3 separate regions of the Homo sapiens genome follow, and regions 1 and 2 are each linked to region 3. Evidence: promoter capture Hi-C in 16 types of primary human blood cells and fetal thymus (Javierre and others, 2016). All regions are on one chromosome and are shown on one strand. The core of a region is centred on a gene start or on the middle of the fragment in contact, and the rest is flanking DNA. Distances in the headings are between cores, read along the strand shown. Region 1 has its middle 30 kb from the start of LINC02988. Region 2 has its middle 24 kb from the start of ANP32E. Region 3 holds the start of H2BC21 (H2B clustered histone 21).

The links. The method cuts DNA at HindIII sites, captures the fragments that hold promoters and counts their contacts. A CHiCAGO score of 5 or more calls a contact.
Region 1: a contact is called between a fragment that was not itself captured here and the fragment with the promoter of H2BC21 in region 3, in 17 of 17 cell types (erythroblasts, megakaryocytes, fetal thymus and 14 more). The highest score is 16.0, in erythroblasts.
Region 2: a fragment that was not itself captured here is called in contact with the fragment with the promoter of H2BC21 in region 3 in 16 of 17 cell types (fetal thymus, endothelial precursors, erythroblasts and 13 more); the score reaches 11.4 in fetal thymus.

What each region holds. Positions count from the first base shown.
Region 1 is chr1:150,188,674-150,193,006 of GRCh38, reverse strand. No RefSeq gene overlaps it. Among named protein-coding and RNA genes, the nearest start is that of LINC02988, 30 kb to the right of the region's middle. The HindIII fragment of the contact is 5,180 bases long and covers 1-4,333 here.
Region 2 is chr1:150,209,296-150,214,017 of GRCh38, reverse strand. It overlaps the pseudogene RN7SL480P. Among named protein-coding and RNA genes, the nearest start is that of ANP32E, 24 kb to the left of the region's middle. The HindIII fragment of the contact is 5,688 bases long and covers 545-4,722 here.
Region 3 is chr1:149,885,419-149,889,858 of GRCh38, reverse strand. H2BC21 (H2B clustered histone 21) reads left to right here and starts at 3,177. Exons shown (of 1, transcript NM_003528.3): 1 at 3,177-4,440. The coding sequence starts at 3,219. The coding sequence ends at 3,599. H2AC20 (H2A clustered histone 20) reads right to left here and starts at 2,941. Exons shown (of 1, transcript NM_003517.3): 1 at 2,448-2,941. The coding sequence starts at 2,884. The coding sequence ends at 2,495. H2AC21 (H2A clustered histone 21) reads left to right here and starts at 1,894. Exons shown (of 1, transcript NM_175065.3): 1 at 1,894-2,390. The coding sequence starts at 1,943. The coding sequence ends at 2,335. RefSeq lists enhancers at 1,824-2,113, 2,134-2,273, 2,684-2,743, 2,874-2,943, 3,264-3,553 and 5 more. The HindIII fragment of the contact is 10,069 bases long and covers 2,975-4,440 here.

The sequences.
Region 1 (4,333 bases), core at 1,100-3,599, 300 kb before region 3:
TGTGCTATTGCTTTAGTTATTTGGAGGAATTACAAGCCTTAAAAGTTGCAATTAGGATTCCTTAAGAGGGTCGGGTGTGGTGGCTCATGCTTGTAATCCCAGCACTTTGGGAGGCAGAGGTGGGCGGATCCCTTGAAGTCAGGAGTTCGAGACCAGCCTGGCTAACATGGTGAAACCCCGCCTCTACTAAAAATACAAAAATTAGCTGGTGTGGTGGCGCACGCCTGTAGTCCTAGCTACTCGGGGGGCTGAGGCAGGAGAATCGCTTGAACCCGGGAGGAGGAGGTTGCAGTGAGCCGAGATTGCGCCGCTACACTCCAGCCTGGGCAACGAAGTGAGGCTCCATCTCGGGAAAAAAAAAGAAAAAGGATTCTTGAAGAGTGTCCAAATAATACCTTGCAGGAAAATGAAGAGTGTATGGATGCTGCAATCAAGAGGAATTCTGGGAACTGCGAGATGAGAATGAGGCCTAACAGGTGCCATGCAGCGAGCTTTCGCAGTGGCAGCTTCCACTGTTAAAATGATAGTGGAACAAGATGAGACTAAATTGTCAGTGATTTCTCTCTATATTATGGGGATAGACCTGTTTTCTTCATTTATCAAGCTCTGCTCTCTCCTACAGACATACCTTGCTTTTTAACAACTGCCGAAAAGGTCAGCTTTCTGCTAAAGGGTCACATCAAAATAGCATTGTTAACGTTACCATTTTTGTCTTCTGAATCAGATTCTATTTTCTGAATCAAATTTCAGCCTGTTTGACAGCCAGTGTGGTTGGGCTGCTGGACTTTATCTCTTGAGATTTGATAGGTAGCTGCTTAGAATTTTCCACATATTTAAATGCATGTGTCATGTCTACTAAATGTGTCTGGTATTGCTAGAGTGGTGCTCCTTATTGTGTGTATATTTGCCCTGGATTTTAATTCTGGAATACATTATTCACTTAAAGGTAAATAGCAAGTATATTTGAGCAAAAACATTTTTATTAGCAACCATAAAAAGGGTGCATACAGTTTTATAGCCAACATGATAATATGAGATGTAATTGGACAGGCACGGTGGCTCACGCTTGTAATCCCAGCACTTTGGGAGGCCGAGGCGGGTGGATCACGAGGTCAGGAGATCGAGACCATCCTGGCTAACATGGTGAAACCCTGTCTCTACTAAAAAAAAAAAAACAAAAAACAAGACAAAAATTAAGCCGGCGTGGTGGTGGGTGCCTGTAGTCCCAGCTACTTGGGAGGCTGAGGCAGGAGAATGGCGTGAACCCAGGAGGCGGAGCTTGCAGTGAGCCGAGATCGCCCCACTGCACTCCAGCCTGGGCGACAGGGCAAGACTCCATCTAAAAAAAAAAATACATATATATATGAGATGTAATTATTTAAATGCCACAATTCTGACTGAACGGGATAGTCAAAGTACTAAAAGACTAATAAAATGCTCCTGTATTAGTTTCATATTGTTGCTATAACAAATTACCACAAATGAAGCCACTTAACACAAATTAATTTTCTTACAGTTTTAGAGGTTAGATGATGGAAATGGATCTTACGGTGCTAAAATCAAGGTGTCCACAGGGCTGTGTTCCTTCTGCGGGCTCTAGGGGAGAATCTGTTCTTTGGCTTTTCCAGCTTCTAGATGCTGCCCGAATTCCTTGGCTCATGGCCCCGCTTCATCTCAAAGCTAACTATTGCACCACGCTGACCTCCACTTCCAGCATCTCTGGCTCTGACTTTCCCGTTTCCCTCTTTTACTTATAAGGACTCTTGTGATTACGCTGGGCCCAGGATAATCTCCCCGCCTCAAAATCCTTAACTTCATCACACCTGCAAAATCCCTTTTGTCCTGTAAGGTAACATATTCACTCTGAGGATTAGGACATGGACTTAGGGTGAGGAGGGATTATTCTGCCTGCCACAGTTCCTTAATATAAAAACCTAAGGAATTTTCCTTCACCTAAGGGATTTAAAGTGCTAAGAAATTAGCAATGAATATATAAACAAATTTCTACCATAATTTGTTTTTTAGAAAAACTTCTGGATGTTTTAAATAATTGCATATTCCAGAATAGCTTGACTTTTTTATATAACTGAAAAAAGATCCTTTTAATATCTGGTGACATATACCTCTCCTCTCTCTGTGATCAGAATGATATATTTCCAGATTTTGTGTTTTGCTTTAGCTTTTTACTTCCAAGTCATATGACTTTTCTAGGTTATAGTTTCAAATATATATATTCTAAATCATTTGGTTGCCCTTTAAAGATGAAAGCATAAGAACTATTTGCACTTTGCTTTATTGTATGATTAGAAGACTTTCTAATTGCATTAATCAGAATGGGGCCAGGTGCGGTGGCTCACACCTGTAATCCCAGCACTTTGGGAGGCCGAGGCTGGTGGATGGCTTGAGCCCAGGAGTTCAAGACCAGCCTGGGCAACATGGTAAAACCTGTCTCTACCAAATCCATCCCACCCTGTGCCCCCTCCAAAATTAGCAGGGTGAGTTGGCACGTGCCTGTAGTCTCAGGTACTCTGGAGGCTGAGACAGGAGGATTGCTTGAGCTCAGGAGGCAGAGGTTGCAGTGAGCTGAGATCATGTTGCTGTACTCCAGCCTGGTGACAAAGCACGACCCTGTTTCAAAAGAAAAAAAAAGAGAGAGAGAGAGAAAGAGAATAGGATGAACCCAGTAAAAACAGAGTCAGTAATGCCACAGCCTCTGAAGAAGAGATCGGGCAGTGATCACAAACCGCTCTGGGTAGCTGTATTAGTCAGGGTTCTCTAAAGGGACAGAACTAATGGGAGAATAAAGGGGAGTTTATTAACTCACATGATCACAAGGTCCCACAATAGGCCATCTGCAGGCTGAGGAGTAAGGAGAGCCAGTCCGAGTTCCAAAACTGAAGAACTTGGAGTCTGATGTTCGAGGGCAGGAAGCAGCCAGCACGGGAGGAAGATGTAGGTTGGGAGGCTAGGCCAGTCTCTCTTTTCACATTTTTCTGCCTGCTTATATTCTAGCTGCACTGGCAGCTGATTAGGGTGCCAGATTAAGGGTGGATCTGCCGTTCCCGGCCCACTGACTCAAATGTTAATCTCTTTTTGCAACACCCTCACGGACACACCCAGGATCAATACTTTGCGTCCTTCAATCCAATCAAGTTGACACTCAGTATTAACCGTTACAGTAGCTAAAACAGATTTCCATTCCAACGGTCTGCTAATAAGAGCTTGACGATTGTAGAGCTCTATGACTTTCAATTTCACTAAATGATAAAAAAAACTAGGTCTGAAAATGTTAATAAAGAATGAAATATTTTTAATTATACAAATGTATTTAGGCCGGGCATGCTGGCTAATGTCTGTAATACCAGCACTTTGGGAGGCCAAGGAGGGCAAATCACTTGAGCTCTGGAGTTCAAGACCAGCCTGGGCAATATGGTGAAACCCCGTCTCTACTAAAATTACAAAAATTAGCCAGGCGTGGTGGTGCGTGCCTGTAGTCCCTGTTACTCTGGAGGCTGAGGCACGAGAATCACTTGAGCCCGGGAGGCAGGGAGGTTGCAGTGAGCAGAGGTTGCACCACTGCACTCTAGCCTGGGCGACAGAGCGAGACTCTGTCTCAAAAAAAAAAATTATTATTTTTTGAGACAGAAAAAAATTATTATTTTTTTGATACAGGTTGCTCACTGCAACCTCCGCCTCCCAGACTCAAATGATTCTCGTGCCTCAGCCTCCCCAGAAACTGGGATTACAGGCATGCACCACCAAGCCTGGCTAATTTTTTGTATTTTTAATAGAGACGGGGTTTCACCATGTTGCCCAGGCTGGTCGCAAACTCCTGGCCTCAAGTAATCCACCTGTCTCAGTCTCCCAAACTGCTGGGATTACAGGCATGAACCACTGCTCCCGGCCCGATTATTCTTATTTTTTGTTTAGTTCTTCAGTGAAATCAACTAAGTCAGTGAGAAATTTGATGAGGGGAGGAAGTTAGTGACAGTCCAAACTCCTTTTTTATTTTTTAAATATCAAGTTCTCAGTAATTTGCAAGTGTTAAAATTCATAGAACTAGCCAGGCACGGTGGCTCACACCTGTAATCCCAGCACTTTGGAAGGCTGAGGCAGGCGGATCACGAGGTCAAGAGATCATGACCATCCTGGCCAACATGGTGAAACCCCGTCTCTATTAAAAACACAAAAATTAGCCGGGTGTGGTGGCGGACGTCTGTAATCCCAGCTACTTGGGAGGCTGAGGCAGGAGAATTGCTTGAACCCGGGAGACGGAGGTTGCAGTGAGCTGAGATCGTGCCACTGCACTCCAGCCTGGGAGACAGAGTGAGAC
Region 2 (4,722 bases), core at 2,139-4,638, 320 kb before region 3:
ATCTCAAGCAATAGAACAGAATTCGAGCGTCTTGGGGAGACAGCAATGTTATTTTAGTTGATGAAGGAAAAAAATAAAAAGTGCTGATCACTTTAGAGTGTGTCCCTAATGTAATTCCTGGAACACAGGGAAAAACTTCTGCCAAGGCAAATTTTTAGATTCGAGAGCAGAGTCGAAAAGCCAGAAGCAAAAGAGGAGGTCAAGACTCGGAAAGGACCCGGGCAACCCGAATTGCTCTACAGGGCGCTCTACGAAACCGTCTCGGATTGGGCCAGAAATGCCGCAACCCCAGTCACGTGGTCCCGCACCGCCCTTCCCCTCTAGATAAACTAGGGCTGGCGCGCACCCGCCAAAACGGTCAGAGACCTGCGCATGCGCGGGGGCGCAGGCGGCCTGCTGAAAGCGTTTTGGATCCTACTTCCGCTTTGCTTCCTCTGGGCAGGTCCAGGTTACTTGGACTGAAACTCGTGGGTCAGATTCTTAGGACCTTCCTTTTCTTTACTGTCTTCCATTTTGCAATCCTTACTTAACGATTAACAAAGCTTTTGTTTTCTTAATTTTTTTTTTTTAATACACATGGAGTCTTGTCCTGTTGCCCAGGTTGGTCTCGAATTCTTGGGCTCAAGCGATCCTCCTGCCTCGGCCTCCCAAAATGCTGGGGTTCGAGGCGTGAGCCACCGTGCCTGGCCTTATTTTCTTTCTAATTTTATTTCAAACATTGCATTATTCTAAACCCCACGTTGACGAATGTCATCCACCTGCTCAGCAGCTATAAATGGTGGAGTTAGGTATGTTTTCAATCTCTCTAAGGTGGAAATGAGGGCTGATCATGAGTGTGGTTTATCAAGTGCTGCGTTTGCAGCTGAGGCCACTTTCGCTTCTGTCACTTGTTTGTGCACAGTCTGGTTCAAGTTTGCACTTAGGTGACCTTTGCTTAAGTGAATTTCTCTTCTTGTCCCCAGGGGCTAACCTACTATTCCACGTTGTTCCTACTCCTATTTTTCTTCTATTTTATTTTATTATTTATTTATTTATTTATTTTTTTGAGACAGAGTCTTGCTCTGTCGCCCAGGCTGGAGCACAGTGGCACGATCTCGGCTCACTGCAAGCTCTGCCTCCCAGGTTCACGCCATTCTCCTGCCTCGAGTAGCTGGGACTATAGGCGCCCGCCACCACGCCTGGCTAATATTTTGTATGTTAAGTGGAGATAGGATTTCACCGTGTTAGCCAGGATGGTCTCGATCTCCTGACCTCGTGATCTGCCCTCCTCGGCCTCCCAAAGTGCTGGGATTACAGGCGTGAGCCACCGCGCCCGGCCTTTTCTTCTATTTTAAAGCCAGAATTGCTGAATTGAACGGTCAAGTTGGTACCTAAGAACGAATCAATTCTGGAAAATATTGGAGCAACCAGCTACCCAGAGGGAAACCGTTGAAAAATGACATGTAGCCCACATGTAAAGTGATTAAGAGCTTTAAGGTATAAGATGTAGGATCCTTTTCCTCTCTCTCCGAAGGAAAGAATGGGTCCATTGAGGGACATTTTGTAGAGGTCACTGTGTGAGATTATTAACATTTTTCTTCTTTTAATTAGGACAACTAAATTATAGTTTGTTAGAAGTGTCTTAAACTATTGAAGAAAAACTGTCATCAAATTATACTTTTTTTGTGTGTGTGACAGAGTCTCGCTCTGTTGCCAGGCTGGAGTGCAGTAGCACGATTTCGGCTCATTGCAACCTCCGCCTCCTGAGTTCAAGCGATTCTCCTGCCTCAGCCTCCAGAGTAGCTGGGACTACAGGCGCGCGCCAACACATGGTGAAACCCCATCTCTATTAAACATACAAAAATTATACGTTTTATTGGCATCAGTCACTTTTCAGAGAATATTTGCTTCACTTTTTCTTGTGCAACCAAAAGATGTCTTTGATCCTATGGAAGGAGAAGAGAATAATTAAATTTGAAATCTTGTATACACAATTTTTATTAAAATGTCAAAGGACAGTTACATGTTTCTATAGAATTAGCATATGTATATATATACGCTCTATCTATCTATCTATCTATCTATCTATCTATCTATCTATCTATCTATCTAGAGAGACAGGGTCTGTTACCCAGGGTGGAGTGCAGTGGCTATTCACAAGCACGATCCTGCTACTGATCCGCACGGGAGTTTTGACCTGCTCTATTTCTGACCTTGGCCAGTTTACCCCTCCCCTTAGGCAACCTCGTGGTCCCCTGTTCCTGGGAGGTCACCATATTGGTGCCGAACTTAGTGCGGACACGCGATCGGTATAGCACACTACAGCCCAGAACTCCTGGGCTCAAGCCGTCTCCTGCCTCAGCCTCCCAAGTAGCTGGGACTACAGGCACGGGACACCGCGCCTGGCAAAGTTAACAAATATTTAACTGCAGTAAAACTAATGTCAGTAGTTTCTCAGGCATTTTCATTGGCTTTTACAAAGTCACAAAATTGGGTAAAATGAGGGCCATTTACTTTATTTAAAAAAAAGAGGCCGAGCGCTGTGGCTCACGCCTGTAATCCCAACACTTTGGGACGCCGAGGCAGGTGGATCACAAGGTCAGGAGTTGGAGAGCAGCCTGGCCAATATGGTGAAACCTCGTCTCTACTAAAAAATACAAAAATTAGCCGGGCATGGTGGCACGTGCCTGTAATCCCAGCTACTCAGGAGGCTGAGGCAGGAGAATCGCTTGAACCTGGGAGGTGGAGCTTGCAGTGAGCCAAGATCGCGCCACTGCACTCTGGCCTGGGCAACAGAGTGAGACTCTGTCTCAAAAAAAGAAAAAAAAAAAAAAAAGAGATGAGAATATTCTTGGATTTTAAGAAGCCAAGATTTTCTAGTGGGTAATAGCATTTCTCAGAAAAGACTTTTTCTTTTAACAGACTAAATATTTAGGAAAACTTTTTTTCTTATATTGAGGGATTGTATTTTCAGCATTGTTTCGATGTTGCCGCAATATTTTAAAAAATACTTATTAGCAGGTGGAGATGATGTGAATTTGTTGTTTACAACCCGTAGGATATTGAAGAGCTACCTGCTGAGAGAGGAGCTGCTACCATCTGGTCTCTGCTATGAGGCCAAAGCACTACATTGGTCCCATGATAAACCTACTTTTCTTTTTGTGTCATTTATTTTCCTTTCCACTGCTATTCTATATCAGCCTTGAGGTTGCTATTGGAGTTGAGGGACAAATAAGAGGTCATATAATGTAGGCCATCGCATAATGATGAAACATCAATTCTGTGGTCTGTCTCTAAGGCTCTGTCCTTGATAATAAAATACAGTGTGCTGTAATGGTTATCAAGTTTCCACTCCATATTATTAGGTTATTAGCTATTAATTAGATATCACTTGCCATTTTTACTTTACATGACTGTAAATAACTGCTGTCTTTCAGATCTTCATGTACTCAATCTTTACAAGCGGTTTGCAATTAACATATTAAGAAAAAAACCATGGAGAATTATGTGCAAATCCTTTTCAAGGCAAGCAGTCTTACAGCTATGATCAAAGGCATAAAATGTAGAATATTTAACAAACTTTTAAAATCCTTTGTTTAAGGAACATAAGTGATAGGAAAACAAATATGAATGATACCAACTCTATCCCTTGAAAAACAGCCTAAACCCAAGATTATAAACCAAGAGCGAAATTGCAGGCAGAGAAATGGCTGAGCTGACAGCTTGTGCCCAGAAAGCTCAGAAGATGCCAAAACTTTGATTTGCTCACTTCAGTGAAGGCGTGATCCTTCATTTTGCAGGGCTATAGAAGGAGATGTATTTGAGTTTGTAAATACAAAATCGATCAATATGTGAGGGACAGACTTGTGCCGTGAAAATTCACCAAAGTCAGATTTCTAAATCAAGTTGTCAATTTATTAATTTACAGGGAGAATGTATATTTACATTGTTTATGGTATTATTGTTCAGTGTTCTAAATTGGCGCTCTTTAATAGACATATAATTCTGTCAAAAATGCAAGTTGGTGGAGTGCGGTGGCTCTCACCTATAATCCCAGCACTTTGGGAGGCCAAGGCGGGTGGATCACCTGAGGTCAGGAGTTGGAGACCAGCCTGGCCAACATGGTGAAACCCTGTCTCTACTAAAAACACAAAAATTAGCCAGGCATGGTGGTGGGTGTCTGTAATCCCAGTTACTCGGGAGGCTGAGGTAGGAGAATTGTTTGTGCCTGGGAGGCAGAGGCTGCAGTAAGCCAAGATCGAGCCACTCTACTCCAGCCTGGGTGACAGAATGAGACTCTGTCTCAAGAAATAAATAAATAAATAAAATAAAAATGCAAGTCACAGATGTATTTAGAATTTTCTAGTAGACATATTTAAAAAACTAAAAAGAAACAGGTAAAATTAATTTTAATGTATTTTAATTAACCCAACATATTCAAAATATTATACTTTCTACATGTAATCAATGTAAAAAATCATTAGTAAGATGTTTTGTATTTTTTTCATGCAAAGTCTTCCAAATCTGGGATGGATTTTATGCTTACAGCAAATCTCAATTCAGATAGCCACTTTTCTTTCTTTCTTTTTTTTTTTAACAGAGTTTTATTTTTATTTAGTTACTTTCTTCTTCTTTTTTTTCTTTTTATAAAGATAGGATCTCACCATGTTGCCCAGGCTGGTCTCAAACTCCTGGGCTCAAGTGATCCTCCCTCCTTGGCCTCCCAAAGTGCCTGGATTAGCC
Region 3 (4,440 bases), core at 1,928-4,427:
GTTTGTACTACTTTCAATTATCTATACACCCATGGCCCAATAGCACACATCCAATAAATGCCAGTTGAATAAACTGGTGAGAATAAAGGAGAAAACATCAGGAAAAGTGTCAAAGAATGATTTAAGTATTTTCTGGCCGGGTGCAGTGGCTCACGCCTGTAATCCCAGCACTTTGGGAGGTCGAGGTGGGCAGATCATTTGAGGTCAGGAATTCGAGACCACCTTGGCCAACATTCGAGATTTGAGGTCAGGAGTTCGAGATCACCCTGGTCAACATTAGTAGAGATGAAACCCCATCTCTACTAAAAATACAAAAATTAGCCAGGCGGGGTGGTGGGCGCCTGTCATCCCAGCTACTCGGGAGGCTGAGGTGGGAGGATCGCTTGAACCCGGGTGGGTGGGGGCGGGGTGGAGGAGGCGGTGGTGGAGGTTGCAGTGAGCTGAGATAGTGCTCCAGCCTGGGTGACAGAGGAAATTCCGCCTCAAAAAACGAACAAAAAACCCACAAGTCTATTTTTTCTCTCTAGCATTCTACCTGACCTTAAGGGATACTAAGGAAAGGGTGAGAATGGTGTAGGAGATGTAGAACTCCCAGAGATGGGACGTTGAGGAGGAAGAAACACAAGAGCTTTCAGGTTCATCTGTTATATGGGATAAAAGAAAAAAAGGAGAGCTTTCAGGAAAGATTTCTAAGACCGCTGGAGTCATGCCAGCGATTAGTGCCTGACGGCAAAATTACCCTTTCCCGGCTGTTGCTGAAATCTAAGGGATGATGATGAGGTGGACAAGGGAGCATGGAGAAAAAGTCTGAAGGGATGTTAAGGAAGCAACTGACTGGATATGCTAAGACGAAGGGAAGAGTAGAGTAGATTTCGGCTTAGGTATCTGTAAGTATGCTGGTGCATTTCAGGAAAAGAGGGCAAAGAGGGGAGGTTGTTTGTATGAGTTCGCGTTCGGATAGGCTGAGGTAGAGTTTGAGTTTGAGGTGCTCGTTGGGATAAGTAGGTTGAAGTATTCTGTAAGCAGTTAGGCATAAGGGTCTGAGCTTCTGAAACAAATTTGGACGTTAGTTGAAAGCATATAAATGGGTAAGACTCTTCGGGATAAGTGAAGAATTGGAGACAGGGAAACAGTCCAGCTGGACTCGCAGATTTAGAGATGGGCAGTGGCATGGGGGAGCAGGATAAGAAAAGTCGGCGAGGTAAGAAGAAAAACAGGGCGACATTTTGAAAGCCAAGGGAGCAAGTTTGAAGGCCGCCTCCTGGAGGTCAAGAGGAGGATGACAAATCTATTCTAGCCTCGGTCAAACCGGATTCCGAGGAGTGCAGGCGGGTGGGGGTGGGGCGGAGACACGCCGCTGCGGGCGACTTAAGTTTAGGGGCGAGAAAGGAGGCAGCCTTAGTAGTACATGTATTTTTAAAGGGAATTTGGCTGTGACGAGACAGAAAGGGCGGGACTTGGCAGTTTAGAGCTCAAGGGGATCATCGGCTTCAGAATCCCCTACTCTTTCGTGAGAGTAACTCTCCGTCTAAGGATGTCTTCTGCAGTTCCTTAGGGTCCATATTGGGATTTCCCGGCTGTAAACTAAACAAAGCAAAGCAAAACAAAACAAAAACCCACAGTGCCTCTCAGTAAAACAAAACCAGTATTTTGTTTGAAAGCCTGCTCTCTTTAAAGATCCTGGCATGCAAATAAGGGGCTTTAATGTGGCTCTCAGCGATTGGTAGATACTTACAAAATCCGTCATTTCCTTTCAGTGCAGGACGCAAACCAAGAGGCGGCTTTCTGCTTTTCTATTGGCTGTTAGATACGGCTCCGCTTTTAGCCAATCAAACGACTTCCCTTCACCCCTCCCGGTAGCTCTTATAAATTACATCAAATTGGTTATTCTTTCCACATTCTTCTCCTTGTAAAAGAAGCTGTAACTGCAATTTTAGCCGTAATGTCAGGACGCGGAAAGCAGGGAGGCAAGGCCCGCGCTAAGGCCAAGTCGCGCTCGTCCCGCGCTGGTCTCCAGTTCCCGGTGGGGCGAGTGCACCGCTTGCTGCGCAAAGGCAACTACGCGGAGCGGGTCGGGGCAGGCGCCCCGGTGTACCTGGCGGCGGTCCTCGAGTACCTGACCGCGGAAATTCTGGAGCTGGCGGGCAACGCGGCTCGGGACAACAAGAAGACGCGCATCATCCCTCGCCATCTGCAACTAGCCGTGAGGAATGACGAAGAGCTCAACAAGTTACTCGGGGGTGTCACCATTGCCCAGGGCGGCGTCTTGCCCAATATCCAGGCTGTCCTGTTGCCCAAGAAAACGGAGAGTCACAAGCCTGGCAAGAACAAGTAATTAAGAGGCTTGACACCATACTCATTCACCCCAAAGGCTCTTTTAAGAGCCACCAAAGTGTCAAATGAAGGGCTGATCACGAAATAGCGCATTAGCTCTTTTTTTGAAAACTTGGGTGGCTCTAAAAAGAGCCTTTGGTCTTGGTTTGTTTGTCTGCATTTATTTGCTTTTGGCTTTGTGGCTTTCGGTTTTCTTTGGTAACAGAACGGCCTGGATGTTAGGCAAAACGCCGCCCTGGGCGATGGTGACTTTGCCCAGCAGCTTGTTCAGTTCCTCGTCGTTGCGGATGGCCAGCTGGAGGTGACGAGGGATGATGCGCGTCTTCTTGTTGTCCCGAGCCGCGTTGCCCGCCAGCTCCAGGATCTCGGCGGTCAGGTACTCGAGGACCGCCGCCATGTAGACGGGCGCGCCGGCCCCCACCCGCTCCGCGTAGTTGCCTTTGCGCAGCAAGCGGTGCACTCGCCCTACCGGGAACTGGAGGCCAGCGCGGGACGAGCGCGACTTGGCCTTGGCGCGGGCCTTGCCTCCTTGTTTGCCACGACCAGACATGACTGAAATCAAGGTTAAACACAGACAACGCTCAGAACCTCGCAACAAAATAAGATTGAAAGAGAACCAAGAGGAAAGCCTTTATAAGCTTTCCTAGGGGTGGGGTCAAGAACGAGTTTTTCATTGGTCCTAATATGGCTTCAGAACCGGCCAATCAAGTCAAGAGTCGGTGTTGTTACGTACGCATTGCTGAAAACGCAAGGTCCGCACACGGACCAATGGAAATGAACGACTTTCGGAGCCCTAATTTGCATAAGGTGGTTATAAAAGAATCAGGCCCGCCCATTCTCTTACTTCTTTTCTTGGCTAAGCCGCGTTTGTACTGTGTCTTACCATGCCTGAACCGGCAAAATCCGCTCCGGCCCCTAAAAAGGGCTCCAAGAAAGCCGTCACCAAAGCCCAGAAGAAAGACGGCAAGAAGCGCAAGCGCAGCCGCAAAGAGAGCTACTCCATCTACGTGTACAAGGTGCTGAAGCAGGTCCACCCCGACACCGGCATCTCGTCCAAGGCCATGGGCATCATGAACTCCTTCGTCAACGACATCTTCGAGCGCATCGCGGGAGAGGCTTCCCGCCTGGCGCACTACAACAAGCGCTCCACCATCACATCCCGCGAGATCCAGACGGCCGTGCGCCTGCTGCTGCCCGGCGAGCTGGCCAAGCACGCCGTGTCCGAGGGCACCAAGGCGGTCACCAAGTACACCAGCTCCAAGTGAGTCCCTGCCGGGACCTGGCGCTCGCTCGCTCGAGTCGCCGGCTGCTTGACTCCAAAGGCTCTTTTCAGAGCCACCCACCTAATCACTAGAAAAGAGCTTGTTCACTTATTCCCTTAGTTTCTTTTCATAAAGTAAGTTATTTTAGTGTGAAGGTCATGGGAAATGGCATACGTAGCTTTTTAACTATTTGGAACTCGAGGTCCCCAGTGCGTCATTGGATTTGCTTTTGAATCTAGAGCGTGTCTTTACTCATTGTGCTGCTTAGCCTTCCCAGGAGTCGGTTCTCAATTAGGCTGTTGGGAATCCGCCTCTTTACCCGCCCCCACTCCCGCCCCACACGCGCCCTGGTGGCTCCTTGGGTCTGTTTCATTCTAAAACGAAGTGGCTGAGTTCGGCTGTCATTTAAGAGAACTCCAGGACACAATTCAGCCCGGGTTCCGCAAACACTGCGTGACAGCTCTGTATGACTGACGCTTGGCAGCAGCTTTTGTGTCCGGTCACCAGTTCTGCCGTGCGATGGGGCCTCCTGTGGATACCAGCCGTTCTGTGTATTTTGGACGAAGGCCGCGCAGCCGGGTCCCAGCCTTGTCCTGATTGGGCGACAAGAATATTCAAAATTCTGCGCCTTTTTCTAATTTGTAGATTTCAGTTTCCGTCGTTCACTTTGAGACTTTGAAATTCCTATTTCTCATTTTGTTGATAATTTCTGCATTTAATGGTCTGTGCTTTAAATGGTAACGCTACGGCCCCAGGTCACTGCGAGGCACTTACCATGTAGATACGGGCTCAAAAGTCACCTCTCAGAGACCTACGTCATCCACTCAGGAATTCGCGCCTCTCA